Linked DNA regions of Homo sapiens: all the other regions are linked to region 3. Evidence: promoter capture Hi-C in human tissues and cell types (Jung and others, 2019). All regions are on one chromosome and are shown on one strand. The core of a region is centred on a gene start or on the middle of the fragment in contact, and the rest is flanking DNA. Distances in the headings are between cores, read along the strand shown.

Region 1 (3,382 bases), core at 476-2,975, 150 kb before region 3:
AGGGCTCTTGGGTGCGGGTGGCATACCCACAAGGATCGGGGCTGGTTGTGCAGACCCAATATCTGTGGTTCAGTGAACTGAGAGCAGTCAGCCAGGCTGCCGGGATAGCTCTGGTGTGGTCAGTGGGCGGGATGGATGTAAGATGGGATGGCTACCCATGAGGACCCACACCAGGTGAGAAATGTACATGCACAGAACCCCACCAGGCTGTGCACTGGGAACCCCCAGGCTGTGGAACGGGGACCCCCCCCCAGGCTCCAGAGTGGGGACCCCCCAGGCTGCGGAGTGGAGACCCCCAGGCTGCGGAGTGGGGAACCCCCCCAGGCTGTGGCGTGGGGACCTTCCCCAAGCTGTAAAGCAGGGAACCCCCAGGCTGTGGAGTAGGGTGGCGGGGCCCTGCCCTGAAGTGCAGCCCAACAGCAGCAACTGGGCAGATGTCAACTGGACCATCAGGGGCCCGGTTGTTTGTGTGGCCAGGAGAGCATGTGCCCTCTGGGAGTCAGGTGTGTGAGGGGAGGAGAGCGGCCAGTTGGAGACAGAAGCATCCAGGGCACAAGAAGGCAGGGAAGCTGTCAGAAGTGGCCCAGGACACGACAAAAATGCAATGGAAAGGAGAGGCCCTAGAAGCCGGGGACCAGCCCCACAGCAGGCACAAAGGTGGAGGAAAAGGAGCACAAAAAGCAGGGCCCTGAGTGCTGCGTCGAGACCACAACGCCCAGCCAGAGACCCTCGGGAAGGAGGAGGCCAAAGACGGCACTTCCTTCCCTCCCCGGGGCAGGCACAGGCTCTGGGCGCAGTCACTGCTCCCTGGACCAAGCACCTTTTGTTGGGACTGAACACGTAACTGAGAGGTTATGAAGTTTTAACTCGGAAGGTCCTCACTGAGAGCATTTCAGCTTCTGTATTTTAGAGAATAAACACAAAACACCCAGAGAAGTGATGTTTCACATGGAAACTGGGACTTACCCAACCTGAATGAGTTCATTCAGCTTTGTTGCATTCTTGTCATCCATACCTTTAAATGGAAAAAATAAATAAATGAGACCACAATGTAGTTAGGAGCAAAGCCACTGAAGATTCCCATACAATTCCGCTCAATATAGACTCAAATCCCATTACCGAATATTAAAGTTCCTCTGGAATAAAAGCCCTACAGTAGCTGCAGCCCCTCCCTCAAAGTCACACCTTCGAGTCAGCTGCCCTGGTCGCCCCCGCTCACCTGAAAGCCTGGCACGCCCCTGCCTGGCCCCCTCCTCAGGCAGGCCCACTACCCAGCCTCTGACCAGTTGATCTGTCCTCCCAAGAGCTCCCTCCTAGGTCCCCCAGCGCCGGCCTTCCACTCATCCCTATCTGCCTGGCTCAACAGCTGCTTCCTGCAGGCACCACACCTGCCCACGCACACTTCCTGCTGGGCTCGTACTGACAGTGTCCGGTGTTGACCTTCCGGCCCACAGTGTGGAACCCCCAAGGCACCCAGGGTCCACAGAATGAAGACTCCGACACCCTCTGAGTTTCCTGGAGCAGACGCCCCATTTCCTGTGACCTGCTCGGGACTCTTCACTATCTTCAAGATGTGCAAGAAAGCAGCTACAGTACGTTAACGGGAGAGACTAGGTGCTGGGTACTTGGCTGTTCACTGTAAAATTCTTTGAATTCTTCTGCATGTTTTAGGGAAAAAAACTCCACAAACGAACGACCAGGCTGAAAACCAAAACCAAAGACAAAATTGTCAAAGCAGCCACAGACAGACAATGCACCTCGCACGGAGGAATGAGGGCATAGATGACCACTGACCCCTCTCATCAGAGCAGCACAGGCCAAGAGGCAGCAGACAACGGTGTCAATGTGATGAAAGAATGAACCCGTCAGATCAGAATTCTCTATCCGGCAAATACATCTTTTAAGAATGAAGATGAAATAAAGAATTTTCAGATTAATAATAACTAAGAATTCACAGCCGGCACAACTGCACGGAAAAAAATACAGGAGGTTTTTCAGAAAGAAAGGAAACAAAGCCAGATGGAAACGGAACTTCAGGAAGGAATGAAAAGCACCGGAAAGGGCTCTTGTCGCCAGGCGAGGCACCAAGAAAGGAACCGGTTGCGGAAACCGGCCAGGCATGGCATGCCACAGGGTCACCGTGCCCCACCTCTCCTGCTCCCGGATGAAGGGTTGGAAGCCTGGGAGCAGTGTGCCCCTCACTCAGCAATCAAGTCATTTATTTTCATCAAACTTGAGCATCCTCATGAGGCAGGAGAATAGGGTCTAGAGGTAGGGAACCTAAGGCCAATTCACGCTGACTTCCTAGAACTAAATCAAAAGGAAAACCCCAACTTTCCACACCTAAGTAACAAACGGACCAGACACGCTATTCCCTTTGCAACGCCCCCTCCCCTTCTTTCTTCATGGCAGATGGGAAATTGAAAGTATCTCTGATTGGTTGCAGAAAGCAGAAAGCAATCGGACATTTACATAGGAGTACAACTTTGGAACTTCACTTCAGCCTGACTGGTTGCTTCTGCTAGGTTTGAAAAAGTCTAAAAAGTCTTCCCCAAGACTGGGGCCAAGTCTTCCTTTGCAAAGAAGTGTAACTTTGTAACCAGTTTAGCTTCTGATTGGTTGTTTTCCACAACCAATCAGATGCTTGCATAGAGTGTAACCTTTGTAACCTCACTTCAGTCTCTGATTGCTGGCCACTACTTCATTTACATAGGGTGTACACCAAGCAGCCAATGGGAAACCTCTAGAGGTTTCCCCCTCTAGAGGGGGAAACTTCTGTAAAAGGGCTCTTGAGCCCCTACGTCCGGGCCCACTCCCACCCTGTGGAGTGTACTTTGGTTTTCAATAAATCTCTGCTTTTGTTGCTTCATTCTTCCCTTGCTTTGTTTGTGCATTTTGTACAATTCTTTGTTCGAAATGCCAAGAACCTGGACACCCTCCACCTCTCAGAAGCTTCTAGGGAGGAAACCAGAACAAGCAGTGGTGCAAAAGGACCAGGCAACAAGGAGTGGGAACACATGGTCAAGATGGGGTTTTCCTTTATCTGGGGAAGATGAGAGCTGGGAGAGCTGTGGCGTAAACTCCTTGGGGCCTGGGATGCTTCCCAAGGCTGAGAGAGGGCAGATGAGAGGCGGCAGGAACAGGCATGAAGAGCTGGGACACGAGGCCCACGGACATGAGTGCGGGCTGGAGAGGCAGGCTGGAGGAGGTAAGAGGAGTGGCTGGGCCCACAGGGGACAGACCCAGTGGGGAAGTGCAGGAGGGCAGGGCCTCCCACACACAAATGCCACACTAGATTGCAGCAGCCACCCCGCAGGACACAGCAAGGCATGGAGGGGCAGCAAGGGGACAGAGTGTGGTGCAGGCCTGGCACAGACAGGGC
Region 2 (3,263 bases), core at 187-2,686, 230 kb after region 3:
TTCGTCCAGCCCCCCACAGCACTGCCACGACCCCGATTCCCAGGCCCCTGCCTTGTCTGTAGCACAGGGATGGAGGGCAGGCAGGTCTCATCCCAGCACCGGTCTCTCTCCTTCCAGCAAGACCCCCGTGTGATTTCTCTCTCCACATAGCAAGTCCGTGACGTACAAACTTTTGATGCACCCTTTCAGGCAAGGGGAAACCGAGGCACGGAGGTGCTAAGGGACTCTCCAAACCCCTGGGGTGGGGGACGCCCAGGCCCTTTGGACTCACCGTCTCTGCTCAGGGCACCTGCTGCCTCTCGCCACCGCCTGCTCCATCCATCCTGGCCTCCACAGTCCCCCTCCCTGAGCCGCCCTGAGGGACCCTGTCACCCCACGGACTGGCCTGTGGCTGTGACTTGGTGCCCACCTGGCCCGGCCTCCCGCTGTCCCCAACACCCACCATTATTGTCCACGTCGCCCCAGCCAGTGACCCAGCACGGCATCCCCGGGGGGAAGGTCTCCGAGGCAGGGGGCAGCGTGACCGTGTGGATGTGGCTGGAGATGTTCACGGGCTCCTCCAGCTCCAGCAGGGCGATGTCCGCCCCGGTCTGGATGATGTAGAACTGTGGGTGCACGATGATCCTGCTGACCGGCAGCAGCTGGTCCTGGTAGTAGAGGTGCTGCTCCCGCAGTTGCACCCTGAGGGCGGCCAGATCCTTGATGTCCCTGGGCAGCGGAGGATCCCACTCAGGGCCCTGGGCAGCCCCCAGGAGCACCCGGGAGCCAGGGCTCACATCCAGCCCTTGCCCACCCCTCCAGGCCCCAGGAGACTCACGGTTCCACGCAGTGCGCCGCGGTTAGCACCCACTGGGGGTGGATGAGGGAGCCCCCGCAGAAGTGCATCCAGTATGGGCCGCGGACTCTCAGGCTCACCTGCCAGGGCCACTTGCTCCTGGGGGCCTCCTGCCCCCCAACAATGCCCGTTTGCTGCAGGGCCTGGCCTGGGGCTGGGGCAGGTGCCAGGTCAGGACCAAGAAGCCGCCCCACGCCTGGGACCAGCCCTTCCCTGTGTGGGGGCCAGCCCGGCCTCCCCAGAACCCACCCAGGCCCTGATCTGTGGAATGTGGTGAGGGGCAGGGTGGACCCCGGCTGGGACTCACCAGGGGCCACGTAGGCCGGGCTCGCCAGGACGGGCAGCGCCAGCAGCAGCAGGCTCAGCATCTGGGGAGCAAGGAGGAGCATCGTGGGCCTGGCCGGGCCTCACAGGGCAGGGCTGGGGGCTACAGATTGTGGGGTGAAGAATGGAGCTGGGACGGGGGGACCGGGGTGGGTCCAGGCCTGCGGGCCTGGGTCTTGGTGCTCTGAGTCTGAGGCTGGGCCACTCTGCTCCAGGTGACGCTGATGTCAGGGTCTCTGAGAGTAGGGACTTACCCTGGCCACTCCCTGTTCCTTCTACCCAGCGGGCTCTCCCCTCCCCATTTATGCTTCCAGATCAGGAGGGGGCGGAGGAGGGGCGCTGGGTCCTCCCATCCAGACTCGGAGGAAGTGGATGACTCAGACCCAGGGCCCCCGTGTAACACATGCCCCCGCCACCCCGATGCCCTCTGTGTGTGGGGCTGCCAGGCAGGCCCCGCCGAGGGCTGAGCACTGGAGGCTCGCAGCTCCACCTGTCAGCTGGTGGATCCCAGCACTGGAACCCACCACCTTCCCGCTGGTGGGATCTGCTCCTGCCCCTGTCTCGGTGCCAGGAGGCCTTCAGGCATAGCTGCACCCAGGTGGCCTGGCTGCCCCAGGCTACAAGACCCGTCGCTCCTGAAACCTGTTTCCCCAAGAGGGACACGGGGTGAGGAACTCATGTCCATGGGCCACCCTCCAAGAGACGGGAAGGTGCCCACGGGGTGGGGACATGACGGGTGACACCCCTCCTACGGACTCCGAATCCACGGGGGTGGGGCCAGCCCTCCTCGACTCACTTGGTTGGGGGCTCACATGAGACCCCTTTGTCAGATGGGGAAACAGCCTTGAGAGGGGACAGCACCAAGTGTCCTCAGCCAGGAAGGGGCCCTGCTCCCCACCTCCCGTATGAGACCCAAGTCCTCCAACGATTCCTCAATGTCCACCTCTGGGGCTGTCCGTGCAGGTCCCCTGGTCTGCAGGTGCCTTCTTATCATGGGATCTGAGCTTCATCCGCAGAGGGAAGGGCAGACAGGAGTGCAGGTGCAACCCCAGGAGACCCAGCCCAGCTCCCCATGGACTCACCCCCAGCCCCAGCCCAGCTCCCCATGGACTCACCCACAGCCCCAGCCCAGCTCCCCATGGACTAGTCCCAGCCCCAGCCCCAGCTCCCCATGGAGTAGTCCCAGCCCCAGCCCCAGCTCCCCATGGACTCACCCACAGCCCCAGTCCAGCTCCCCATGGACTCACCCCCAGCCCCAGCCCAGCTCCCCATGGACTCACCCCCAGCCCCAGCCCAGCTCCCCATGAACTAGTCCCAGCCCCAGCCCAGCTCCCCATGGACTAGTCCCAGCCCCAGCCCAGCTCCCCATGGTCTCACCCCCAGCCCCAGCCCAGCTCCCCATGGACTAGTCCCAGCCCCCGGCCCCAGCTCCCCATGGACTCACCCCCAGCCCCAGCCCAGCTCCCCTTGGTCTCACCCCCGGCCCCAGCTCCCTGTGCTCTCCATCCCATTCAGCGCTGACACTGTCCCTGCAGCTCCGTCCACCCCACCTCCTGACTCACCTGGGCCTGTTGGTCACTGGGGCCTCCAGCCCACCTCCTCTGCTTCTGAGCCCCAGGACCCCCTGCCTGCCCCCCGACCCCCAACACAGGGCCACTCCGGGGCTCCTCCTGCCCCCACCCTGCCTGGGACCAGCCTGGTTTGAGGCTGACTCTGCACTGCGGGGCCATATCCATCTGGACTCCTTCCGGGCTGCACCCCCCGGGGGACAGGCAGGGGTGGCCCAGACCGCTCCTGCTCATGACCCTGCTTCTCCTCCATTCTCTGGACAAACTCCCCAGAGGCCTCCACCTGCCCCGTCCTGGTTCCATGAATGAGGCCCACAAGATGGGACCTTCAGGAGCCCAGGAGGTGAGGGGATGGGGTGACGGGGGACACCAGGGATGAGGGTGTGGCAGGGACACGGGAGACACCAGGGCTGACGGTGAAGAAGAGACTCAGGGGACACCAGGGCTGGGAGAACCCAGGGACACACGGGGACACCGGGGCTGTGGTGTGCAGAGGGCTCTGGGACCCCCGAGTCAGGGGCTCTGGGGCCGCTCCT
Region 3 (3,600 bases), core at 764-3,263:
TTGACCTCACAAAGTGCTGGGATTACAGGAGAGAGCCACCACACCCTGCCCCGACCCACAACTTTAAATGGAAATCAGGCAGGCTCAGTGGCTCACGCCAGTAAACCCAGCACTTTGGCTAGGCTGAGCTGGGAGGATTGCTTGAGCCCAGGAGTGTTTGAGAACAGCCTGGCAACATAGCAAGACCCTTCTCTACCGAAATAAAATAAATACATAAATAAATGGAACTCACTGTCAGTTGGAAGCTGCGAGATCCGCCGCTCTGTGTGTGGCACCAGCGTCGCTGTCCTGGTGGCTGCCAGTCCCCCGGGGCCTAAGGCCCCAACCCCGTCCATGTGCCCAGGATGTTCTCTCCGATGCTTTCTGCATCTTCTCCATGTCCATGGTGTTCTGACGCTTGACAAGGGGAGCCTGGGGGCCACCGATGGTTTCCTGGCCTGGCACCCTCTTGGCTCATGCCACCTTGGGAATGATGGATGCCCCCAGTGGGACAACTTTGTGGATGATCTTATTCCCATGAGCTGGGCGGCTTGAAACAACAGAAATGAGTCCTATCACAGTTCTGGGGGCTGGAAGTCTTGAAGTGAAGGTGCACACTCCCTCGAAGGCTCTGGGCTGGGGGTTCCCACTTTACCTCTTCCAGCTTCTGGGGCCTCTGGGGGTTCCTCGTGGCAGCGTCACCCCAGTCTCTGCCCCATCTTCACAGGCCGTGTCCTCTGTGCCTCCTCCTCTGTCTCTTGTACCCCTGTCATTGGCTTTAGGGCCACCTGGATAATCCAGGATGGTCTCATCTCAAAATCCTTCATGACATCCGCAGAGACCTTTTCCACATAAGGCCCTGCCTGGGGCTTATGTGTGTTTTTAGGAGGGTCTCATTCAAGCCAGTACACAACCTGTAACCAAAAATACCAGCCTGGCCCACATGGGGCAACCCCGTCTCTACTACAAATACAAAAATTGGCCGGGCGCGGTGGCTCATGCCTGTAATCCCAGCATTTCGGGAGGCTACAGCGGGTGGATCACCTGAGGTCGGGAGTTTGAGACCAGCCTGGCCCACATGGTGAAACCCCGTCTCTACTAAAAATACAAAAATTAGCCGGATGTGGGGGCACATACCTGTAATCCCAGCTACTTGGGAGGCTGAGACAGGAGAATCCGTTAAACCCAGGAGGCGGAGCTTGTGGTGAGCGGAGATCGCACCACTGCACTCCAGCCTGGGTGACAGAGCAAGACTCCGTCAAAAAAATTAATTAATTGGCCAGGCGCAGTGGCTCATGCCTGTAATCCGAACACTTAGGGAGGCTGAGGCAGGCAAATCATGAGGTCAGAAGTTTGAGACCAGCCTGACCAACATAGTGAAACCCCATCTCTACTAAAAATACTAAAATTAGCCGGGCATGGTAAAGCACGCCTGTAATCCCAGCTCCTCAGGAGGCAGGAGGCTGAGGAAGGAGAATCGCTTGAGCCGGGGAGGCAGAGGTTGCAGTGAGCTGAGATTGCGCCATTGCACTCTAGCCTAGGCAACAGAACGAGACTCCATCTCAAATAATAATAATAATTAATTAATTAAGGTGGCTCCCAGTCACATTTCCATTGCTTTACTGAGAGAGACGGGGCCTCCCAGGATGCAGCCGTGCACGGCCTGGGTGATGGGTGCCTGTGCAGACCTGGCTCTGTTGACTCCCCAGCCCCCGTCGGGTTCCCTGTCTTGCTTCGACTTCTCGGGAGCACAAGTCCATGTGCTCCTGTTAAAGCCATCGCCTCCTGCCCGCGGGCTTGCACCCAGCTGAATGATTCTTCAAAGAAACTGTTTGCATCTGTTTTAAGCTTGTCTCCTTAGGAACCTGCAAGTCTCAGAGCCCACTGGCTTGAAGGCAGATGCCTTTCATGGAGGCGGCAGGAAGAACCTGACATCCAGCCAGGGCCAAAGAAGGAAAACCACTCAACAGGAGAGCTGGGGGGACGAGACACAAGACAGACCCACGGAGCCACCTTCACCCTCTCCTGCGGCTGGAGGGAGACTGCTGGGGCCTTGCCGTCTCTCCGGATGGGTTGCTCGTGGAGGAAGACCTTGTCTTTCTTCCTTGTTTTTGTGCCTATATATCTACATGGGGCTTCATCGCAGGAAGCCGCCCCAGTGGGGCCCAGGAAACCGTTTTTCGAGAGGCTCCGTAGGCTGGAGGAACAGGCAAGTTATACCCCTGACATGGCGCAGTCGGGTTTTTAAATTGGCAGCAGATGGAAGACGGATGTTACAGAAGCAGATTGGTAAACATCAGGGCTTGGCGGACACGAACACCGCGTGTGACGCTCTTTCCATCCATGAAGATTATTTCACCTGCAGTTGGACACCAGGGAAGAGCTGAGCTGGGCTCCACTCACACAGGACACAAGCCTCATAACATGTGGGGGTCAGGTGGGGCCAGAGGCTAGAAGGGGGTCTGGAAGGGAGTCAGGGGAACTGGGGGCCATGGGGGCCGGGTAGTGTCATGGGGAGTGGAAACTGGGAGGTCACAGGTCCACCTTGTGGCAGTCGGTGTGAACGGCCTCCCGGACTCCCACGCGGGGTCCACGGACAGTTCCGGAGTGCTGTGGGCCTGTCGGGCCTGCGCTGGGTGCTTCCTGTTTGGGCCTCGTAAAGCACTCATGAGGCCACCCTGCCGTCCCCTGCTCACAGGCAGGAGCTGGAATCACGAGGGAAAGTGACTTGCCGGTGGTTATGGGGTGAGCGGTGGGGATCAGAGCCCCAGCTGTGGGCCTGGAGTCCACACCCCACGTGGTGCAGCTGCATGGCCTGGGGTCAGTCCCTGGCACCCACCACATCTCACGGCATCGCAGTGGGGATCAAATCGGTGGGCAGATAGCCAGTGCTGGCCGTGGCCCGGGCACGCGGCCGCTGCTCCCAACTTGAGAGGGCAAAGCCTTTCCCGTCCCGCCCAGCCGGCCCGGCCCGGCCCGCCCCATCATCACCGTGTCCTCCTTACAGTTCCGGAGATTCCAGGAGGTGACCTGGACACACCTGCAGAACATCGCCAGCAACTACAACGTGTCCTACAACGTTGACGTCCGGTTCCGGAGCCTGGCGGAAGAGAGCCAGGCTGTGGCTCAGGCAGTCAACCGGTCACAGGCCTCGGTGCAGGGGGAGCTGGCGCAGCTCAAGGCCTGGGTGAGGAAGCTGCAGCGCCGAGGCCGGAAAGTAGACACGCGGCTGCGGGCCTTGGACCTCACCCTGGGCGAGAGGAGCCAGCAGCGGGCCCGGGAAAGGAAGGCACACAAGGCCCAGAGGGACGCCCTGCAGGACTCACTGGCACGCCTGGAGGGCCTCGTCCACAGCCAGGGCGCCAGGCTGGCTGCTCTGGAGGGGCGGCTGCCCGTGGCCCACCCTGGCACTGCAGCCCTCGGGCCGGCCCTGGTCCCAACCCCAACCCAGCCTGAGGAGCTGGGCCCGACCTCCCTGAAGCTTCAGAGGGACAGGCAGGAGCTCCGAGCTGCCTCTGAGCACAGGGGCCCCCCACAGGACTCCTCGGCCCCTCTCCAAGGGAGGCGGGAGCCTCCAGCCTCAGGCAGCCATCGGGTACTCAGTGGGACTGCCCCAAAAGA

Evidence for each region. Contacts are between HindIII fragments. The study calls those that stand out against the background at their distance.
Region 1: a fragment that was not itself captured here is called in contact with the fragment with the promoter of PTX4 in region 3 in 3 of the 25 tissues and cell types used here (dorsolateral prefrontal cortex, mesenchymal stem cells and spleen).
Region 2: the fragment with the promoter of TPSD1 here is called in contact with the fragment with the promoter of PTX4 in region 3 in 1 of the 25 tissues and cell types used here (spleen).

Annotation. Positions count from the first base shown.
Region 1 is chr16:1,638,772-1,642,153 of GRCh38, reverse strand. It overlaps CRAMP1 (cramped chromatin regulator 1), which reads right to left. Exons shown (of 21, transcript NM_020825.4): 6 at 967-1,015. Among named protein-coding and RNA genes, the nearest start is that of CRAMP1, 28 kb to the right of the region's middle. The HindIII fragment of the contact is 5,606 bases long and covers 1-3,382 here.
Region 2 is chr16:1,254,242-1,257,504 of GRCh38, reverse strand. TPSD1 (tryptase delta 1) reads right to left here and starts at 1,436. Exons shown (of 5, transcript NM_012217.3): 1 at 1,143-1,436; 2 at 818-989; 3 at 443-708. The coding sequence starts at 1,224. The HindIII fragment of the contact is 12,300 bases long and covers 1-3,263 here.
Region 3 is chr16:1,487,357-1,490,956 of GRCh38, reverse strand. PTX4 (pentraxin 4) reads left to right here and starts at 2,013. Exons shown (of 3, transcript NM_001328608.2): 1 at 2,013-2,188; 2 at 2,987-3,600. The coding sequence starts at 2,048. The HindIII fragment of the contact is 5,905 bases long and covers 1-2,644 here.